Linked DNA regions of Homo sapiens: all the other regions are linked to region 3. The links are contacts of gene promoters, found by promoter capture Hi-C in human tissues and cell types (Jung and others, 2019). All regions are on one chromosome and are shown on one strand. The core of a region is centred on a gene start or on the middle of the fragment in contact, and the rest is flanking DNA. Distances in the headings are between cores, read along the strand shown.

Region 1 (4,652 bases), core at 164-2,663, 380 kb after region 3:
AGGACAAATAGGTGATAATGTGAATTAGGAAGGAAAAGTTGACATTTGGGAACGCCAGAAGAAATTGGAAATTTAGTATCTTACTGCAAGCCAGAGTGAGGCTGGAGAAATGGGGGACGGGGGTTAGACTTAACAACCTGCTTGGGACACAGGTGAAAAATGCAGCAGAAAATCAGTTCCCCGTGGAGTGTGAAAATAATTAAGAGACAGGCAATTCCACTGAGGTGTCTCTAGTCCCTGGGTTCCTACTTAAAAAAAAAAAAAATCTAACTCAGGTGCATTTTTTTTTTAATTACTACATTCAGAGAAAATGTAGGCTTAAACAACTATAAACTGTTAATTAACCTCTGATTACACAACCAGGAAATCTTCACCTGTATTGTACAAATCAAGAAACTACGTTACTGTAACCAATTACTAAATTTAGTTTTCTTCATCATACATTTTATAAATGACTTTCCTTCAAGCCTCTCCCATAGACAACAAACTACAAACCATAGCTGGATACTCTATGATTCTTGAATCACTGTTTGATTAAATTCTTTAGGCCAGGCGCGGTGGCTCACGCCTGTAATCCCAGCACTTTAGGAGGCCAAGGCGGGCGGATCACGAGGTCAGGAGTTCAAGACCAGCCTGGCCAACGAGGTGAAACCCCGTCCCAACTAAAAATACAAAAAAATAAGGCCGGCCCAGTGACAGGCGCCTGTAATCCCAGTTACTCGGGAGGCTGAGCCAGGAGAATCTCCAGAACCCGGGAGGCGGAGGTTGCAGTGAGGGGAGATCGCGCCACTAAACCCTAGCCTGGGCGACAGAGCGACTCCGTCTCAAACAAACAAAAAAATCGTTAATATTTGTGCAGTGACTCCCATACATTTTTAATAGGAGAAAAGAGGAACTGGGAAAGCCACGGACCAAAGATCTTCCCATTCATGAACCCGCACCCCGAGTCAGGATTTTCCCCTGACGACCCTCCCGTGGTCCCTGCACAATCTGAGAGAGACGCGGCGCTGCGGGTGCAGAGCTGCCAAGAGAGGGCTCCAGGCCAAGGCACAGTCACTACGCAGGGAAGAGAAAGGACGCCTGGGGTCCTGGCTGTCAGCGCAGCCGCCATCTTATGGCCGAAGGGGACGGAGGCCGAGCTGGGCAAGGCGCAGATTGTGAAGCTGACTGCGGAGAGGCCTGAGTCCCGCCACAGCTACTTCCCACCAGTTCCAACCAGCCCTTTCGCCGTCTCTCGGGATGTCGGACCGGGCACTCTCACCATTTCTAGGCTTCTAGGGGGTCCTGGCGTCTTAGCTGTGGATCTCCCAATATCTGCAGGTCAGAGGGCCACACAGGCTAGGCCCCTAGGAGCAGAAGACACAGAGAAGTGAGAGCAAAACCTGGAGCTCCGGCTACAGCGAGAGACAAAGACCCCGCCAAACCCGGAAGCCGTCCAGTCCGCTCCAGCTGCATGCCTGATTGGACGGTTTCCAGCCCAGCGTCCCTGGTTGGATAATGCTTAAATCCCCGCCCTGTCAGGCTTTGAGTGACAGAAGATGTGATCAGATGCGGGTTCAATGAAGAAAGAGTGACAGCCTAGACTGCCCCCTCTTCTGACAGGGCTTCCTCCCTCAGCTGAGCTAGGCCCATCCCAGAGAGTATTTGCCTTTAAATTTGTGTATAAGGTCATATGTATAAATAAATAATACATTATATAGCTATACACAAGTGAAAAGAATATAACAATTATTTTAAAATTTCAGCTTTTATGACCTTCCTGGCTTCTGGCCCTTTGAGCAGGCAGCCTGAGATTTTAGAAAAGAGAAAATCATCTAAAATGAATGTCAGCCACATGTGGATTTGAAATTTTCTAGTAGCCAAACTTTAAAAAGAAACAAGTTGAACTGATTGTTAACAATGTAATTCACCCATTATATTCAAAATATTATCATTTTAATGTGTGAGAAATATGTAATTATTGATAAAATATATAAATATTTGGAACTAAATCTTTGAAGCTGACTTTGTATTTTACCTTTCTAGCATATCGCATTTCAGACCAGGCACATTGTGGGAACCCAGTAGCCACACATGGACAATAGCTGTCACATTGAAGTGCAGCTCTGATGTCAGCGGTGTGAAGGGCCTGAACATCTCTTTCCTGCGAGAGTGAAAGAAGAGACTCTCCCTACAAACATCTCTCTTTGGTTCCTAGGGTGGACCAGATAGTTCCCATAGAAAGAGCTGAGGGCAGTAGGAATAAAATAGCCACAGGTAATAAACAACTGCTGGCCACCTGTTGCCCACCTTTCTTTTAGAGACCAGATAGTGAACAAAGGATGATGGGGCCACAGGAGAAAAAACAACTATGTCTTCAGTTCTGTCCACACACTTGAACTCCAGTATTTAGAGATGGAGAAAATAGATTAAAAACAAACATAGTTTGCTATATGGTCTTGGCCCTAACAATCAGGCTGTGTTTATCTGTTTTCTCCTGTGGTGTGGGGGACTATGTGAGTCTAAGCACCAATCACACGCATACATGTCTACAGGTATTTCTGCATTACCCAAAATTCTCTTACAAAACATCGAACTTTAAATCAGGGGAAGAAATCAGTACCTAGAGGGTGTCCACTGTTAGAAGCCAACTCTTAGTCAACCTGTCACTGAATCCTGGCAACTTATCTGTACTGGGTGCATGTATTAGTTAGCTATTGAGGCATAACAAATCATCCAAAACTTATTAGTTTATAATTGAAATGGTTGGCCATTTAGGCCGAGCTGAGTGGGGCCATTCTTCTGGTCTCAGCTGAGCTCCTTCAGACATGTATCATCACCTGCTTTTTGACTAGACAGCTGTGCATCTGGGGGTGAGCTTCTGCTCCTGGGTCTGTCAACAGGGGCACCTTGCTTCTCCTCTTCATGGTATCTTATTTTCCAGCTGGCTAACATGGGCATTATTCATGGAGATGGCAGCATTCTAAAAGAAAAAGAGAAGCAGTCAATACCATTTGAGCCTGGGCCCCAAACTGGCCCACTGTCATGTTCACAGGTTTCTGTTGACCTGAGCAAATAAGGTCAGCCAGATATAGGGCTTTGAAAACAGATTCCAGATCTTGATGGAAACAGCTGTAAAAGCACCTGGTTATGGGCAAAGATACAAGAGGGATGAAAAAATGTCATTTTGCAATCAGTATCATTCTACCTTTTTTGCATATGTGGTATATAGAACTCTTCCACATCAGGAAACTTGTGCAAAGTCCTACGGCTACTAAGTGGCTGGGCTGAGACTCAGGATCAACTTTATCTGACTCCAAAGCCCATGCACCTCCATAGATGACACTACTAAAGTAGCTGCCCTGCCCTAGACTATTGAAATCCTGGAGAGTGACACTTCCATAGTAGAAGTCAGATTCCTTTTAGATTTGTGCTCATTTGGGAATAATCCTCACAAAAATTGCAGAAGCACACGGTGGCTCTCACCTGTATTTTTAGTACTTTGGGAGGCTGATATGGGAGATTTATGTGAGCTTAGGAGTTCCAATGCAGCCTGATCAACATAATAAGATTCTGTTTCCATGACAAAAATGAAGAAATTAGCCACCCATGGTGGTGCATGCCTATAGTCCCAGATACTTAGGTGGCCGAGGCAGGAGGATTGCTTAAGCCTGGAAAGTCAAGGCTGCAGTGAGCTATGAGTAGTTACACCACTGCAATCAAGACTGGGTGACAGAGTGAGTCCCTGTCTCAAAAAAAAAAAAAGAAAGAAAAAAATTGGAGAAGCATTTTGAAAAGATATAAAATAATTTGGGGAAATAACTGAAGGATGAGTTTAGAAAATCAAAGACCAACAACACATTATTTATTTTTCATCATAGAAAATAGTTGAAATCCATTAAAAGGAAAAATCTTTAGAGAAATTAATAAATTTTTTAAATTTATTTTTTATTTTTGAGATGGAGTCTCGCTCTGTCACCCAGGCTGGAGCACAGCAGTGCGATCTTGGCTCACTGCAACCTCGGCCTCCCCAGTTCAAGCGATTCTCCTGCCTCAGCCTTCTGAGTACCTGGATTATAGGCATCCGCCACCACGACCAGCTAATTTTTGTATTTTTAGTAGAGACGGGGTTTTACCATGTTGGTCAGGCTGCTCTCGAATTCCTGACCTCGTGATCTGCCCACCTTGTCCTCCCAAAGTGCTGGGATTACAGGCGTGAGCAGCAGAGTCCAATTGAGCATGGAATGATTTGCAGATTGGGTAGCCTGTGGATCCAGAGTAGGCGCAGAGAGACTCTAGCACAGCCACATGATGAAAACAGATTGATAGACAGCAAAAGCAAAGTGACATACAGAAAATGAAAGTGAGGTACAGAAACAGCCAGATTGATTACAGGTTGGGATTTGCCTTATTTAATCATGATTTGAACACTTGATGTTCTTTTATTGGCAGAAGCACAGTGGTTGGTACAATAATGGGTTACAGTCTATTTATATATCCAGTTAGGTTTCAGTTTACTATGTACAAAAAAACCTAGTGACCAAAGTTAAACAGGAAAGGGTGCAGCTTTAGAGATAATTAATTTAACAATTTCTCCCTTTTGGTCACGTTCTCAATTTTGAGAGATAGACCAAAACTTTAGACATTGATATTACTCTGTCACCATCAAAAGT
Region 2 (4,402 bases), core at 1,079-3,578, 450 kb after region 3:
CCTGTCTCTACTAAAAATGCAAAATTAGCCAGGCGTGGTAGTGCATCCCTGTAGTCCTAGCTACTCGGGAGGCTGAGTCAGCAGAATCGCTTGAACCCAGGAGGCAGAGGTTGCAGTGAGCTGAGATGGCTCCACTGCAGTCAAGCCTAGGCAACAAGAGCTAAACTCCATCTTAAGGCGGGGCGGGGGAAAAAAAAGAGTCCTGTGCCTAGGGAAAACAAAAAGAAAAAAGAGGCCAGGCATGGTGGCGGAGGCGGGTGGATCATCTGAGGTTAGGAGTTCGAGACCAGCCTGGTCAACATGGAAAAACCTTGTCTCTAACAAAAATACAAAAATTAGCTGGGAATGGTGGTAGGTGCCGGTAGTTCCAGCTACTGGAGTGGCTGAAGCAAAAGAATCACTTGAATCAGGGAGGCAGAGGTTGCAGTGAGCAGAGATCACATCACTGCACTCCAGACTGGGCAGCAAAGCAACACTGTCTCAAAAAAAAAAAAAAAAAAGTAAAGAAAAAAAGAAAAGGAAAAGAGGCACAGAGATTTTTATTTTTTACAAACAGTGTAAGGGGATTATTTTTTGCTTTCTTTTCAATATGGAAAATATTTTCAAATAGAAAACAAAATTTAGGCCGGACTCGGTGGCTCACGCCTGTAATCCTTGCACTTTGGGAGGCCAAGGCGGGTGGATCACAAGGTCAGGAGTTCGAAACCAGCTTGGCCAACAAGGTGAAACCCTGTCTCAACTAAAAATACAAAAAAATTAACCAGGCACGGTGGCAGGTGCCTGTAATTCCAGCTACTCGGGAGGCTGAGGCAGGAGAATCGGTTGAACCCGGGAGGTTGCAATGAGCTGAGATTGCACCATTGCACTCCAGCCTGGGAAACAAAGCGAGAGGAAGGATGGAAGCAAGGATGGAAAGATGGAAGGAAGGAAGGAAGGAAGGAAAGAAAGAAGAAGGAAAGAAGAAAGGAAAATTTATTTAAGTCCATCCAATGATTTTTCAAAAAATAATTAAAATATCTGTATCAAAAATATACAGATATCTAAAATATCTTTATCTAAAACGTATCTCTGTATCTAAAATGTACACTAAAAAAAAAAAAAAAATAGCCCGGCTCGGTGGCTATTTTTAAGTGCTGTAATCCTAGCACTTTGGGAGGCTGAGGCGGGTGGATCATCTGAGCTCAGGAGTTCGAGACCACCTGGCCAATATAGTGAAATCCCGTCTTTACTAAAAATACAAAAAAAATTAGCTGGGTGTGGTGGCAGGCACCTGTAATCCCAGCTACTAAGGAGGCTGAGGCAAGAAAATCGCTTGAATCCGGGAGACGGAGGTTGCAGGGAGCCGAGATAGCACCATTGCACTCCAGCCTGGGCAGCAAAAGCGAAAGTCCATCTCAAAAAAAAAAAAAAAAAGAAAAAAAAGAAAAAATAGTTGATAACGTGAATTGCGGAGAAGAAGGTGGCATTTGGGAATGTCAGAAATAAAGGAAAATCTAGTTTAGTTTTTTTTTTTTTTTTTTTCCAGAGGGAGTTTCACTCTGTGGCCCAGGCTGGAGTGCAATGGCGCGATCTCGGCTCACTGCATCCTCCGCCTCCTGGGTTCAAGCGATTTTCCTGTCTCAGCCTCCCTAGTAGCTGCGATTACAGGCGCGCGCCACCACGCCCAGCTAATTTTTGTATTTTTAGTATAGACGGGGTTCACCATATTAGCCAGGCTGCTCTCGAACTCCTCACCTCGTCATCCACCCACCTCGACCTCCCAAAGTGCTGGGATTAAAGGCGTGACCCACCGCGCCCGGCCGACTCTCCTGTTTCTAATAGACCAAAAGAGGGACTAGAAATGCCACGGACCAAAGCTCTTCCTATTCATGAAACTGCATCACGAGTCAGGATTCTCTCCTGACGACCCTCCTGTGGCCCCTGCACAATTTGGGAGAGACGCCGCGTTGCGGCTGCAGAGCTGCCCACAGAGGGCTGCAGGCCGGGACACAGTCACTGCGCAGAGAAGAGACAGGACGCCCGGGGCTGCCTCCCAGAGCAGCCGCCATCTTATGGCTGAAGGGGATTGAGGCCGAGCTGGGCAAGAACTCCGGCACGCGCAGATTGTGGAGCTGACTGCGGGAAGGCCTGAGTCACGCCACAGCCCCTTCCCCCTCTCGGGATGTCGGACCGGCACTCTCACCATTTCTAGGCTTCCGGGGGGTCCTGGCGTCTTAGCTGTGGATCCCCCAATACCCGCAGGTCACAGAGCCACAGAGGCTGGACCTCTAGCAGCAGAGGACACAGAAGAACGAAGACGAGACGCAGAGCTCCAACTGCAGCCAGAGACAAAGGCCCCGCCACATCCCGGAAGCCGCCCTGTCCTCTCCTGCCCCGTGCCTGATTGGACGGTTTCCAGCCCAGCGTCCCTGATTGGATAACTTCTAAGGTCCTGCCCCCGCAAACCCTGAATGAAAGATGTGATCAGACGCTGGGCTGAAAGAAGAAAGAATGACAGCCTAGGCTGCCGCCTTTTCAGGCAGGGCTTCCTCCCTGAGCAGAGCAGGCCCAACCCAGAGGGTATTTGCCTTTAACCTTGTGTATAAGGTCATCTTCACTTATAAGTAATATACTATATGGATACTAAAAAATGAAAACAATTGTTTTTGAATTTCAGCTTTTATGACCTTCCTGGCTTCTGGCCCTTTGAGTAGGAAGTATTACAAACATTGAATATTTTATTATTTATCCTCTGTGGGGTTTTTCTTATTCTTGAGAGGGAGTCTCTGTTACCCAGGCTGGAGTGCAGGGTCATGACTGCAGCTCACTGCAGCCTCAGCAATCTAGGCTTGAGCAATTTACCTGTCTCAGCCTTCTGAGTAGCTGGGACCACTGGCATGTGGCCCCATGCTCAGCTAATTTGTTATCATATTTTTATTTGTAGAGATGAAGCCTCACTAGATAGCCCAGAATGGTCTCAAACTCTTGGGCTCAATGAATCCTACAAAGTCAGCCTCCCAAAGTACTGGGATTATAGGCATGAACCATCACATTCAGACTGAATTATTTTATCAAAAAATTTTTTTAAAGCATTGAGGTCCATTAATAGAATTCAAGGAAATGTTATGCACATGTTTTAAAAGCAAATTAAAAAGCATATACAAAAAGAGAACATTTTTTAAAAAACTAAATATAGGTAATGTTACCAGAAAAAGTTTAGATCTCCTGACTTTAAGTTGCAGTATGCTAATGGAATATTCTTAGTGGATAGTATTCCATTTTCATAAGAAATTCAAAACAAGATAATTTCCAGGTTTTAGAAACTGATGTAAAACATAAAAATATAGAAAATCTCTAATGTGTTCCCATGATATAGTATTACTTGAAATATAAACTGGGCAAACTCAGCAAAAGACAATTTAATCTCAAATTTCAAAATAGGTACAGAAGTTCTAATGGAATAATAAATGGAATCCAGGATTTTATTCATAAAAAGGCTAAAAAGTGACCATTCTCTGTGATTTTGAAAGTAGGAATTTGTGTAAACAGATGTGTATTTGCATCTACATTTGCCTACACTTACTTTTTTTTTTTTTTTTTTTTTTTTTTTGAGACGGAGTCTTGCTCTGTCGACCAGGCTGGAGTGCAGTGGCACAATCTCGGCTCACTGCAACCTCCGCCTCCCAGGTTCAAGCGATTCTCCTGACTCAGCCTACCAAGTAGCTGGGGATACAGGTGCATGACCCCATGCCCAGCTAATTTTTTTATGATATATTCATTTATTCAGATTACTCGATAATTAAAAATTATATTTTCTATGAATACCAGCTAATTTTTTGTATTTTTAGTAGAGACAGGGTTTCACCCTGTTAGCCAGGATGTCTCCTGACCTGGTGAACTGCTCGCCTTAGCCTCCCAAAGTGCTGGGATTACAGGTGTGAGCCACCATGCCCAGCAGCTTTTAAACATTTTAGGAAAGCATGAGACATCAATCAATATGTATAAGATCTTCCTTCCCTACCTTTTTCCTTCTCCACCTCCTCCTTCCTCTCTCTCTTTCTTGGTTTGATCCAGTAATGCAGGACAACTTGAGGTGAGGGCTTCCAGGTCATAAGTAAATAAGAGATAAAAGTCTGGATTCTTGAGTCCTTGATAAGCATTCAACTGAATACAATTTAGTCTGGCTCAGTGAACCTGCATATCTAAATTAACAGCAGTGCAGAGGAAGCAATCAGATGTGCATTTGTCTCAGGCGAGGCTCAGAGAAATGACTCTGAGTTCTGTCTGTCTTTGGTTCTCAAGGAATTTCCTTGTTGGCTAATTGTAAAGAAAGTATGTAGCTTTTTTATCTTTGTAGCTATCTTATTTAGAAATAAAATGGGAGGCAGATTTGCCTGACATAGTTCTCAACTTGACTTTTCTA
Region 3 (4,537 bases), core at 782-3,281:
CTGGTGAGAAACCCTACAAATGTGAAGAATGTGGCAAAGCCTTTAGTGTATTCTCAACCCTTACTAAACATAAGATAATTCATACTGGAGAGAGACCCTACAAGTGTGAAGAATGTGGCAAAGCCTTTAATGTATTCTCAACCCTTACTAAACATAAGAGAATTCATAATGGAGAGAAACCCTACAAATGTTTAGAATGTGGCAAAGATTTCTACCAATTCTCATACCTTACTACACATAAGATGATTCATACTGGAGAGAGACCCTACAAACATGAAGAAAGTGGCAAAGCTTTTAACTGTTCCTCACAAATTACTAGACATAAGATAATTCATACTGGAGAGAAACCCTACAAATGTGAAGAATGTGGCAAAGCTTTTTAAAAATCCTCAAACCTTACTAATCATAAGATAACTCATACTGGAGAGAAACCCTACAAATGTGAAGAATGTGGAAAAGCTTTTAACCAGTCCTCAACTCTTACTAGACATAAGAGAGTTCATACTGGAGAGAAACCCTACAAATGTGAAGAATGTGGCAAAGCTTATAACTGGTCCTCAAACCTTACTAAACATAAGAAAATTCATACTGGAGAGACACCCTACAAATGTGAAGAATGTGGCAAAGCTTTTAACCAATCTTCAACCCTTACTATACATAAGATAATTCATATTGGAGAATAACACTACAAATGTAAAAAATGTGGCAAACCTTATAACCAGTACTCATACTTTACTACACATAGGAGAATTCATGCGGAAGAGAATTTCTACAAATGTGAAGAATGTGGCAAAGGCTTTGACTGGTCCTCTACCCTTACTAAAGATAAAAGAGTTTGACTGGGTGCGGTGGCTCATGCCTGTAATCCCAGCACTTTGGGAGGCTGAGGCAGGCAGATCACCTGGTCAATGGTCCTCTACCCTTACTAAAGATAAAAGAGTTTGACTGGGTGCGGTGGCTCATGCCTGTAATCCCAGCACTTTGGGAGGCTGAGGCAGGCAGATCACCTGGTCAAGAGTTCAAGACCAGCCTGGCCCATATGGTGAAACCCCATCTCTACTAAAAATATAAAAAATTAGCCAGGTGTAGTGGTGCACACCTGTAGTCCCAGCTACTCTGGAGGCCTAGGTGGGAGAATCGCTTGAACCCAGGAGGTGGAGGTTGCAGTGAGCTGAGATGGCTCCACTGCACTCCAGCCTGGATGACAGAGAGAGACTCTATCTCCAAAAAAATAAATAAATAAATAAAAAAAATAAGAGAGTTCATACTAGAGAGAAACCCTGCAAATGTGAAGAATGTGAGAAAGCTCTTAACCAGTCCTCACACCTTACTGCACATAAGAGAAATCATACTGGAAGGAAACCCTACAAATGTAAAGAATGTGAGAAAGCTTTTAACTGGTACTCATGCCTTACTGCACATAAGATAATTCATACTGGAGAGAAACTCTACAAATGTCAAGAATGTGGCAAAGCTTTTAACCGGTACTCAACCCTTACTACACATAAGGTAATTCATGCTGGAGAGATACCCTACAAATGTGAAGAATGTGGCAAAGGTTTTTATTGATTCTCATACTTTACTAAAAATAAGGTGATTCATTCTGGAGAGAAATTCTACAAATGTGAAGAATGTGGCAAAGGCTTTAATTTGTCCTCAACACTTACTAAACAGAATTCATAGCAGAGAGAAATCCTACAAATATGAAGAATGTCACAAAGCTTTTAACCACTTCTCAACCCTGATGACACATAAGGTAATTCGTGCTGGAGAGAAACCCTACAAATATGAAGAATATCTCAAAACTTTTTATAGATTCTCATACCTTATTAAACATAAAATCTTACAGGAGAGAAATTATACAAATGTGAAGAATGTGGCAAAGCTTTTAAGAAATCCTCATCCATTACTAAACAAGATAATTTGTACTGGAGAGAAAACCTACAAACGTGAGGAATGTGGCAAAGCCTTTAATGGTCCCCTCAACTTTCTGCACATAAGATAATTTATACTGTGGAGAAGCCTTACAAATGTGAAAAATGTAGCAAACCTTTTAACTAATCCTCAACCCTTACTACACATAAGATAATTAATGCTGGAGGGAAATCCCACCCATGTGGCAAAGCTTTTAATCAATCCTCAAACCTTACTAAACATAAGATAACTCATACTGGAGAAAAATCTTAGAAATGTGAAGGATGTGGTAAAGCCGTTATCCAGTCCTCAACTCCCACTAAACATAACATAATTCATACTGGAGAGAAACCTCACAACTGTGAAGAATGTGGCAAAGCTTTTAACCAGTCCTACAAACCTTTTTGAACAAAATAATTCATACAGGAGAGAAACACTACAAATGTGAGGAATGTGACAAAGCCTTTAACCAGTCCTCAATTCTTACCAAACATAAGAAAATTCATATTGGAGATTAACCTTATGAGTGTGAAAAATATGGCAAAAGCTTTAACTAGTTCTCAGTTATTATTATTATTTTTAGAGATGGAGTTTCACTCTTGTTGCCAAGGCTGCAATACTGTGGCATGATTTCAGCTCACTGCAACCTCCGTCTCCCAGGTTTAAGCAATTCTGCCTCAGCCTCCCGAGTAGCTGGGATTACAGGCATGCACCACTATACCCATCTAATTTTGTATGTTTAGCAGAGATGGGGTTTCTCCATGTAGATCAGGCTGGTCTTGAACTCCTGACCTTGTAATCTGCCCACCTCAGCCTCCCAAAGTGCTGGGATTACAGGCATGAGCCACCACGCTCAGCCACTAGTCCTCAGATCTTAACACACATAAGATAATTCATACTGGAAAGAAACTCCACAAACCAGAAAGATGCAATAATGCTTTTGACAACACCTCAAGCTTTTCTAACCATAAAAAGAATCATATTGGTGAGAAATCCTAGAAATGTGAAGAATGTGACAAAGTCTTTAAATGGTTGTCATACTTGACTTTTTTCTTTTTTTGAGATGAAGTCTCACTCTTGTCCCCCAGGCTGGTGTGCAATGGCATGATGTCGGCTCACTGCAAACTCCGCCTCCCAGGTTCAAGTGATTCTCCTACCTCAGCCTCCCAAGTAGCTGGGATTACAGGCACCTGCCACCACGCCTGGCTAATTTTTGTACTTTTAGTAGAGATGGGGTATGACCATCTTGGCCAGGCTGGTCTCAAACTCCTGACCTCAGGTGATCCGCCCACCTCGGGCCTCCCAAAGTGCTGGGATTACAGGCATGAGCCACCACTCCCTGCCTTACTTGATTACATTCAATATAATTCATACTGGAAAGAAATCCTACAAGTGAGAGCAATGTGGCAAAACTTAACCACCTTATTGCACAGAAAAGCATTTATGTTTGAGAAAAATTATACAAATACAGACTGTGAAAAAGACATTAATATCTGCTTACATCTTAACACCAGAGAGTTCATACTTAATAAAAGCAAGATAAGGGCAATTACTGTCAAAAGGTCTTTCAGAAAAATATAACCCTTTAAAGTGAAGAAGAGAATTTATATTGAAGATGGACATTACAAACATAAAGAGGGTTGTAGTACCTTTACTTGAATCAAATTTTATTGTACACATTTTGTACTAGAGGAAAACTCTGAAGCAGTTGCTCAAGCTTTGTTCAACATTAGGGCACTTATATTGGAAAAGTGTCTTGCAGATATAATAAATGTGGAAAAACACTTTTTCAAAAACTACATCAGAAAACACCAGAGTTTATACTGAAGAATATTTTTGAAGATGCACTAAAAATGAAAAAATATTTAATCCAAATTAGGGCTATGTAAATATCAGAATTTATAATAGAAATATATAAGGAACTGACACTGCAGATATACTAAGTCAAGAGTTCTGAGTATAGAAAATAATCTAAAACTAAAGTTGATAGAAAAAGTATTTGTATATAAATTTAAGAGGAGTAAAAGATTTTTTGCAGAGTAATAACTACATTCTAAGTATACTTTATTTCTTGAAAAAATTACAGACTTTGAAAGCAAATGATGTAATTCAACACTCATTTTCTGGTGTTTCTTCATTCTTATTCACTTGTGAAAGCATGTGATAATTGTTGCATCAAAGGTATGAGAGATTCTTTTCCATTAGGTGGGCATTTATGATCTTTTCTATGGACAAGTAAGGACATTAGAATGTAAGATGCATGATGAAAAAGTGGAGAGGTTCTTTGTGGTTAACTTATACTCTTGAGTGATATATGAGGTAGGTGTTAAGAGTATTGTTCTTTTGCATTATGAGAAAACTAGTAGTATATTATTAGTATATTATTGTACTAATTGTACTTTTATATAATAAAATGCAGCACATTTTTAAAATTTTACATTATGTGTGAAGTTAATGGTTTCAACATTTTTAACATGTTAATCTCTTGCCAGTGGCTTTAAAGTATAGATAAATTAAATAATAATATTCCTGTTGGGTAAATATTTATTCTTATTTTAATCAATTAAATTTATTTTTCTTAATTTTTGTGGGTATATGAGTATATATACTTATGCCATATATG

Evidence for each region. The method cuts DNA at HindIII sites, captures the fragments that hold promoters and counts their contacts. A contact is called where the count stands out against the background at its distance.
Region 1: a contact is called between the fragment with the promoter of ZNF100 here and a fragment that was not itself captured in region 3, in 2 of the 25 tissues and cell types used here (H1 embryonic stem cells and dorsolateral prefrontal cortex).
Region 2: a contact is called between the fragment with the promoter of ZNF43 here and a fragment that was not itself captured in region 3, in 5 of the 25 tissues and cell types used here (H1 embryonic stem cells, adrenal gland, dorsolateral prefrontal cortex and 2 more).

What each region holds. Positions count from the first base shown.
Region 1 is chr19:21,766,166-21,770,817 of GRCh38, forward strand. It overlaps ZNF100 (zinc finger protein 100), which reads right to left and starts at 1,414. Exons shown (of 5, transcript NM_173531.4): 1 at 1,262-1,414. The coding sequence starts at 1,264. RefSeq lists a silencer at 1,401-1,578. The HindIII fragment of the contact is 21,319 bases long and covers 1-4,652 here.
Region 2 is chr19:21,833,854-21,838,255 of GRCh38, forward strand. ZNF43 (zinc finger protein 43) reads right to left here and starts at 2,329. Exons shown (of 4, transcript NM_003423.4): 1 at 2,183-2,329. The coding sequence starts at 2,185. RefSeq lists enhancers at 1,420-2,393, 1,923-2,012, 2,053-2,102, 2,123-2,282, 2,394-3,366. The HindIII fragment of the contact is 27,139 bases long and covers 1-4,402 here.
Region 3 is chr19:21,384,232-21,388,768 of GRCh38, forward strand. It overlaps ZNF738 (zinc finger protein 738), which reads left to right. Exons shown (of 5, transcript NM_001355237.2): 5 at 1-4,351. Among named protein-coding and RNA genes, the nearest start is that of ZNF493, 11 kb to the right of the region's middle. The HindIII fragment of the contact is 5,408 bases long and covers 1-4,537 here.